Linked DNA regions of Homo sapiens: regions 2 and 3 are each linked to region 1. Evidence: promoter capture Hi-C in 16 types of primary human blood cells and fetal thymus (Javierre and others, 2016). All regions are on one chromosome and are shown on one strand. The core of a region is centred on a gene start or on the middle of the fragment in contact, and the rest is flanking DNA. Distances in the headings are between cores, read along the strand shown. Region 1 holds the start of HADH (hydroxyacyl-CoA dehydrogenase). Region 2 has its middle 19 kb from the start of PAPSS1. Region 3 has its middle 39 kb from the start of PAPSS1.

Region 1 (2,852 bases), core at 167-2,666:
TGTCCCCAAGAAAAATTAGATGACTATAACCGCCTTCCCCAACAAACCAAGTTGCAAAGGACTGAAATGCTAAGAATATAATCAGCTAGGATACGAAAACCATGGTTCTCCAATGTGAGCTGAAATGGAATAATTTTTAAAAAAAAAAAGTACAAGCATTACAGTAGCCAGGTAATCAATCACTCGCACAACTGAGCCTGAACCACAGCTCAGCAGAACAATGGAAAAGCCCTGAAGATGTACAATGGATAAAAGACTTGTTCCGGCTGGGTGCAGTGGCTAACGCCTGTAATCCCAGCACTTCGGGAGGCCAGGCGGGCGGATCACCTTTGGTCAGGAGTTCGAGATCAGCCTGACCCACAAGGTGAAACCCTGTCTCTACTAAAAATATAAAATTAGCCGGGCGGGGCGCCTGTAATCCCAGCTACTCGGGAGGCTGAGGCAGGAGAATCGCTTGAACCCGGGAGGCGGAGGTTGCAGTGAACCGAGATCGCGCCATTGCACTCCACTCCAGCCTGGGTCAAAGAGACTCCGACTCAAAAAAAAAAAAAAAAAAAAAAAGAGAGAGACTTATTCCGCTGCAGCGCCAAAATCGCAAGCTCAGAACTCTGCACAGACGGCACTATTTCAAAGGTCAAAACCAGGACCTCAGCAATCTTCCATTAGGTGACTTTACAAAGTGCTACAAAAGTCATGACTACTACTATTCTTTACAACCTAGCAAGCGAAGGAAAGACCGGGGAGAGCCGGGAGGCCGTTTAGGAGAGAAAACTACTTTGACAAAGACTGCACAATTACAGAATAAAAATCAAAAATAACTGATAGAATTAAAACTGATCGCAGTTCATGTCTTTGGCAGCAAACTCCCGTTTGAGCCGAGCAGGAACAAACGCGTTATGCCTGAACCTTGTGCACATACAATTCTTTCTTCTCTTGCACGGCCCGCTTCCAAAATGCATTCACCGCCACTCTCCATGGAACCTTCAGCGGGCCCTGGGGGCAGCCAGAATTTTCCAAACGAGGAAGCTGAGGATCGGCCCAGAACCCTGAATTTTGAGGGGAGTGAGACTTGGGCCCTCACAGGCCCAGACGCGAGATATTTCAACTACACCCGGGAGGCGCGGGGTGAAAACTCCCTGGTGTCGGGCGGGTGCAGGCCCCTCGCGGCCGGTCGCGCCAGAGCTTCCACCTCAGGGTGGGCGGCCAAGCGCGTGGGCACGCTGCAGGGAGGGCCGCTCACCTGGGCAATGCCGGCGCCCATCAGCCCGCCGCCGATGACCGTCACGTGCTTGACGATTATCTTCTTGGCCGAGGCCGAGGCGGTGGACGAGGAGGACACGGAACGCATGAACTGCCTGGTGACGAAGGCCATGGTGTGGCAGCGGCGGCGACAGCGAGGAGACCCGGGCAGGGAAGACGCGCGAGGCGGGCAGCCGCGGAAAGCCAGACTCTGGGGGCGGGGACCTACGCGGCCCTGCAGCCCGCGCGCCCCCGGCGTCCCCGTGACGCCACAAGGCGGGGGCGGGGCCTCGAGTCCCGCTCTGCCCATTGGCCCTGGCTGTAACGTCCCAGCGTTGAGCGGGTATACACGCGCGGGCTCGCAGCTGTCAGCAGCCGGAGCCCGAGTGAGCGCGGGCTTGAGACCTGCTGAGCAGCGGGACCTGGCGGCTGGCGTTCTGGTGTGGGGCCGAGAACAGACCCTTCTTCTGAAAAGCCACTGGCCCCTTGTTCTATGAAGTGAGTGGTGTTGACTCTGTAAAATGCTATCCTTTGATGACATGTGCATATCTAGGCTCTGAAGAAATATGTGCTGCTTGGCTGTGTTGGTAATGGACCCAAAATGTGCACCGTTGGTTGATGTCACCAAATAATCAACTCGGGATTATTTTAATCCCGTGGACAGTGATTGTTTCCCCTAAAAGGGAAATAAATGTAGACTGCGAACACCCAAAACAAATGTCTAGTGACCATGAGTTACAATGCAAAAATCAGGCTCAGGGAAGGTAAAGAGAGAGTTGACCTTTAGTTACCCATCTTGACGTTGGACGTCTATCAGTGCAGTGAACATGTGGACGGTTTAAGGTCATAGAGCAACCTTTCTGGAATAACGAATACTATTAGAAAGCATAGGAAAGAAATGTCTTGTCAAATAATGGAAGACTGGATAGCAGCTTGGCCAATCTTCTCACTCAGGTGAATACTTTCTAATTACTGTAACTTAGTGATATAGGATTCTTATTAATTTATTTGCTTTATGTTTAAATATTGTTAACAAAAAAACTTCAAACAAGTTTAGCAGAGTTTATCTGAGCAAAGAAAGCATGAATCATGTAGTATCCTGAGCCAGTAAAGGTTCAGAGAGCTCCAGCCCCTAACAGTGGGCAAGCCGCGTTTATAGACAATATTTTTTGCAGCCTGTAATGGGCTAAAAGCTCCGCTGCGGTGATTGGCCAAGACTTGGCCACTTGTTAGAAGAACGTACTCTCAAATTACATTGCAGTTTATTTACATATTAGGTTTGATTATGCTTTGCTAGGTAGGGAGGCAACTTTAGGCCAGATTTAATTTAATAACAGTTTCCTCCTTTGGGTCAGCCTCTCAGTTTTACGAGATTGACCAGAACCTTGTTTTGTCTCAGTATGGAAGTCACAATGTCAAATTAGTTGAGTGATTATACTTTCTTCATGTTGTTATTCTAACTGTAATAACACCATTTGGTGTACAAAGGATGGCTGCATAGAGACATTGAAGACTCTCGAGGGGACAACAACACATCAGGGAGACTATTATGGCCACGAGAAGGAGTATAGCAATAAACTGAGGTACACACCTTAACAGGAGTCTCCACAAAC
Region 2 (2,852 bases), core at 181-2,680, 250 kb after region 1:
GCTGGTGCACATCTTTTAATGCCAGGGAGATGTTCCCAGAGTTATCTGGAATATACACACAGCATTCAGTTTTGATGAGGGCACAAGTTCCCCCTTGAGCTGCAGTAAGGATGTCCAAGGCCATTCGGTTTTATAGAATAGCCTTCCGCATGTGACACATTTCAGTATTTATTAGAGAGATGCTCTGGAGGCTGTCATTCAGAGCCCTTTTGGTAAAGTTAGCTAGGGCTTCTATGTGCCATATGACAGTTCCTAGCCCTACTGAGGGCATGAATATTGCAGCTAGATGATCATACTAATGAAAGACTGACCTAGTCCACCTATTAATCATATGTGGACAACAGGCTGGATTTTTTTTTTTTTTTTTTTTTTTACCCAGCAACCTTGTGCTATGGGAGGCCTAGAGTCCAGCGTCCTAGCCAGCCCACAGGGAGCCACAGCCACAAATTGGTGCCACAAAGCCATTGAGTCCTGTTGGGAGCATACTGGGCCATTGCTCCCAATCTTTAGGCCGGGCCGTTGAGACCAATCTGTGGCAAATACATCCCTTTGCTGGAGTGCTATAATATGTTGGCACCGATCTGGGAGAATCCATCCCATAACCCATGTGGCATTGGGTCAGTGGTCAAGGGAGTGGTTTCATTGTTCCCAACACAAGGGGGCTAGTTGACTCAAGTGCCCAGTAGAGGTGGTTAACCATATGAGCCCAACCCAAATTTGGAGAAAGCCACTCTGGTATCAAACATTTTGGGGTTTAAAAGTTTGGATGGGCACTTTTGGTTCTAACAAGGGAGTAGCTAGTGCTATAACTTCGTCTCTTGTTATGTTAATCAAGAATGGCTTTTCATGTCATTTAAAGGGTCATTTAAAGTTGTTTATGGGCCATTCTGACACATTTGCCCTAGTCACTCCCATCATTTGTGACCCAGTCCAGTGTTTTAAATCCGGGAAGACTTGTAAATGTCTCTAATATTTCCCTTGCATAGGTGAGACCCACCACAGTAAACTGTGGTGCTAGAAAGGGGTAACAGGCCACAGACCCAACAGGAATCCTGCTGGAGGCTGTCTGCATAGTCCTGTGCCCATTGTAGAAAGAGGTTAGCAGTGTGTGCGGAAACAATATTAGGTATAAAGAGAAAGAATAGGATAAAAGAAATTCTTATCGTTTTCTGAATAGAAACTTTAGGTCCTCTAGGGGCTCTGCCTCCCATTGAGTGGCTACAGGTGTTTCTGTGGTGGAGTTCTTGGGCGACTGGAATTTCTTTACCCACATATGATGAACCCAAGGTTTGATGCCTGCTAGTTTCAGTGCTGAGTCGGTAGTCAACAGCCCATCATAGGGCTCTTTCTATTTCTCTTGTAGTTGTTGGGCAGGACCAGCTTCCTTCCATTCTTTCTGCAGCACTTGATCTCCAGACTGGAACGGGTGGTGGGCTTCCACGGAGTCTATGACGTTTCTGTTAGAAGAAAATTTATGCAAGGGATTAAGAGTTTGTTCCAAGTGAGTGGCATAAGTTTTAATAGCTAGTTCCTTGTCTGGAGACATTCTAGCCACCTGGGACAAGTTGGCTACAAAAGGCCTCCTGAAAATGATTTCACAGGGACTTCATTTGATCCCACTTCTGGGAGCTATTCTTACCTGGAGCAGAGGAATCCCAAGCAACTGAAGCCACTTTAGCCGTGTTTCCTGACATAGCTTGGCGAGGGTTGTTTTTAAGGTATGATTTATTCTTTCAGTTTGTCTGGAGGACTGAGGCCTCCAGGCTGTGTGTAGCTTCCATTTTATCCCTAGCACTTTTCTTACTTGTTGGGCGATTTCCTATGTGAATGAAGGTCCATTGTCACTCTGGATAATGTCAGGAAACCCATATCGAGGAATGATTTCCTTTAGCAGTACCTTAACTACCTCCATTGCCCACTCAGAGCAGCATGGGTATGCCTCTACCCAGCCTGAGAAGGTGTCCACCAGAACTAGGAGATATTTGTACCCTCCTGGGGCAGGTAGCATTTGAGTAAAGTCAATTTGCCAATTCTCTAGTGGTTGTTTCCCTCTCCCTTGCTGTCCAGGCTGTCCTGTATTATGGTTGTTGGGCTCATTTTTAGTGCAAAAGTGGCATCGTAGGATTATACTTTCTAAATGGGCCCTCATTCCTTTTCGTATACTTCTATATGAAAGTTAATGAGGCATCTTGCCCAAAAGTTGTGCCATCATGAATATATTTTAGTATTGGGTGAAGGAAAGACCCATGTCCTGGGTCATTGAAAGTTGTGCAGCCATTCTGACACATTTGCCTTAGTCACTCCCATCATTTGTGAGCCGGTCCAGTGTTTTAAATCCAGGAAGACTTGTAAATGTCTCCAATCTTTCCCTTGCATAGGTGAGACCCACCACGGTGGTGCTAGAAAGGGGTAACAGGCCACAGACCTAACAGGAATCATGCTGGAGGCTGTCTGCATAGTCCTGTGCCCATTGTAGAAGGAGGTTAGCAGTGGATGCAGAAACAATACTAGGTGTAAACAGAAAGAATAGGATAAAAGAAATTTTATCTCTGACACCCAGATTAGGCCTTTGTCATTCAATTTCCAGTCATTTTTCATCCTGAATAAACCCTTTGTCCTTGGTAGCCTTTTCGTCCTCAAGACTGTACCTAGGTTTGAAGGCTGCCAAATCTATTTGGGGAATTAAAGGAACCCGGAGTTCAACATTGGAGCTGGCTAGGTGCCTGGCTGTGCAATCTAAGAAAGCATTTCCCCTAGCTACTTCAGAATTGTTGCACTGATGGCCTGGGCAACGCATAACAGCTATTTCTCTTGGGGCCTTTATTGCCTCTGGTAGCTCTAACACTTGCTTT
Region 3 (2,852 bases), core at 197-2,696, 230 kb after region 1:
TATTGACGGGATTGATTCCGGGCCTGTAGTTGACTGGACGTCAGGAAAGCAGTAATGATTCCAGGAAATTCCTAGCTAGATAGTGCAAATTTTGTTGGCCCAGTTTGGGAATATTGAATGGGGCAATTACTGAGCAAGCGGGATTCGAACTCCACTTCTCCTGTGGATTTTGTGCTAGTTTGCTGCCTGGCTGCCCTATCTATTATGTACCCTATTCCATCCCCCAACCTCAGAACAAAAGCAATATTCCTCCTCCCTATCTGTTCTACATGTAGGATAGAGTGGTGGATGGGAGCGAAACATCCATTTTATAGTTTTAGAATTTATGTTATCCTGGATATATTTCCATAAGGTTATACTATATTTAAGTATTTGTATATATTTTCTCTCTCCTTCCATTATAATCTAGGCTTCAAAAAGGTAAGGATTTTTATGTTTTCTTCCCAGTGAGTAGAAGAGTCCCTAGCCTGCAGACACTCAAAAATAGTTGTTGAATAAGATGAGTGAATGAATATTGAAATCTTCCATTATATGGTAGAGTTGTCCATTTCTTCCTGTAATTCTATCAATTATTGCTTTATATTTTTAAGGCTCTTTTATCAAGCACATACAAAACTGAAATCATTAAAGCTTCTTGGTGAACTTAGTTTTCCTTAATAATGTTTTGGGGTGATTTGTTTTTGTTTTTATATTTTTGGTCATAAACTTGTTTCAATACTAATATTCCATCAAGATTTCTTTTGGTTAATATCTGTCAGGTATATCTTTTTACTAACTTTTTACTATGTCCTTATGTTTTATGTCCCCGTATTCTAAACAGTATTTAGCTGGATTTTTTAAATACAACTGGACAATCAACCATTTAATAGTGAGTTAAGTTTATTTATGATTGTGAATATTATTGATGCTCAGTTTATTTCTAAATACCTTTAAAACCTGTTTAATCTGTTTATTGATTAAAAAATTAAACAGTTACATTTCTAGAAGATCCTTCTGTTTCTTTTTCTAATAATATTTCTGTAGCCTTTTTTGTCTACTTATCTTTATAGTTCTGTTGTTTATTTTTTTAAACATTCTATACCCAATCCACCACTGGAATAAAATTATAATATTTATACTATGTAATATTTATACAATGCTAATATAACTGGTACATATATTAGGTAAACACATATATGCCAGGTATTCTTACAAAATTAATAATATATTCTCTTTAACTCAGTGTATTCAAAATATCATCATGCCAACCAGGTACTTTTTCTTTTTTTAAGACGGAGTCTCGCTCTGTCGCTGGAGTGCAGTGGCGCAATCTTGGCTCACTGCAACCTCCACCTCCCAGGTTCAAGTGATTCTCCTGCCTCAGCCTCCCAAGTAGCTGGGATTACAGGTGCCAACCACCACACCCAGCTAATTTTTGTATTTTTTAGTGGAGACAGGGTTTCACCATGTTGGCCGTGATGGTCTCGATCTCTTGACCTTGTGATATGCCCACCTCGGCCTCCCAAAGTGCTAGGATTACAGGCGTGAGCCACCATGCCCAGCCCAGGTACCCTTTTTTAAACTTTACATGGATTAACATATTTAATCCTCATTTTGCTAACTAGTCCTGTTTTACAGATTAGGAAACTGTAGTGGAGAGAAGTAAAAAAATTGGACCAAGTCCAGATAGATAGGTAGAATTCTGAGCTGGGATTTGAACTCAGGCTGTTACTACAATATTTTGAATATTCAGTCTGATAATGGGGAGGGGAAGACAGCAAACATTGTTTTTATTTTTGCTAAACTTAAAGGCAAAAGAGCATTTGATTCTTGCTTTGTAAAACTGCTAGTGATTTTTAACCTTTTCATGTGGTAATTAGCTTTTTGCATGTCTTCTTTATCGTTCCTATTCTTTGTCCATTTTGGTCTTGGAGTCCTAAGTGATGTTTTGTATTAAAAGCTCCTTAGTGTAAAATATATTTTTATAATAAGGTATATTTTTATTTAAAGAATTTTACATTTTTACCAGGAATGAAATCCCAGTTCACATTTTCACTTCCTAAGGAAAATTAGAAGATTTGCAAAACAATTACTTTTTCGTAGAAACTACACCCCTACTCTTCCTCATCCTCATGACAGGAAATTCTCACCTGTTATTTTTAGTCTCTGAGCTCAAATTTCCATAAGAAAACACATGAGGAAAGGAAAAAGTATGTATACCTCTGTTATATATATTATATAAAATATCATCTCTAGCTCTCTGTAAAATTAAATAAAAGCTTATTATTTCAAAGAACTAAACTACTGAAAATACCTTAAACAGAATATGGCACAATTAATAAATAGATACAGCTTAGATTTGTTATTTTAAGGAAAAAATAAAATTAGAAAATATTTTAGAACGATTATATAAGATATAAAAAGGGATTATATAAGATATAAAAAAGAAATGCTTTATTTTTAAGAATTAAACACCATACAGTTCCTTTATGGAGAGATCTAAAAGCTTATCTGATGTTTAAAAACTAGAAGGAAAAAATGTTTAAGAAACTAAAGAACTATATACTCCTATTTGGAGGCTCTCAGCATTTGCCATCTATCAGACTAGATTTTAGAACAGCAAAATTTAAAAATGTTGCCATCTAGTGTTCACCTTTAGAATTATTCCCATAAAATTCGTGTAATATAAAAAGGTTACTTCAAAATATAACTGGATCTTGACTCTTTAAAATTGGAACCAGAGATCAAGAAGGAATTTCCTGAGGTAACTGAGGAGAGTTTTAAAAATTTAGGGAAGAAAGGAAGAGGTTACTAATGATTATGTATCTATACATGTGAAGACAGCTGTGAATGAGGAAAGCACTAGAATGAGA

The links. The method cuts DNA at HindIII sites, captures the fragments that hold promoters and counts their contacts. A CHiCAGO score of 5 or more calls a contact.
Region 2: a contact is called between a fragment that was not itself captured here and the fragment with the promoter of HADH in region 1, in 1 of 17 cell types (neutrophils). The highest score is 5.2, in neutrophils.
Region 3: a contact is called between a fragment that was not itself captured here and the fragment with the promoter of HADH in region 1, in 2 of 17 cell types (monocytes and M2 macrophages). The highest score is 5.4, in monocytes.

What each region holds. Positions count from the first base shown.
Region 1 is chr4:107,988,453-107,991,304 of GRCh38, reverse strand. HADH (hydroxyacyl-CoA dehydrogenase) reads right to left here and starts at 1,416. Exons shown (of 8, transcript NM_005327.7): 1 at 1,241-1,416. The coding sequence starts at 1,372. RefSeq lists a silencer at 1,420-1,649. The HindIII fragment of the contact is 11,946 bases long and covers 1-2,852 here.
Region 2 is chr4:107,737,576-107,740,427 of GRCh38, reverse strand. No RefSeq gene overlaps it. Among named protein-coding and RNA genes, the nearest start is that of PAPSS1, 19 kb to the right of the region's middle. The HindIII fragment of the contact is 7,745 bases long and covers 1-2,852 here.
Region 3 is chr4:107,757,850-107,760,701 of GRCh38, reverse strand. No RefSeq gene overlaps it. Among named protein-coding and RNA genes, the nearest start is that of PAPSS1, 39 kb to the right of the region's middle. The HindIII fragment of the contact is 1,628 bases long and covers 633-2,260 here.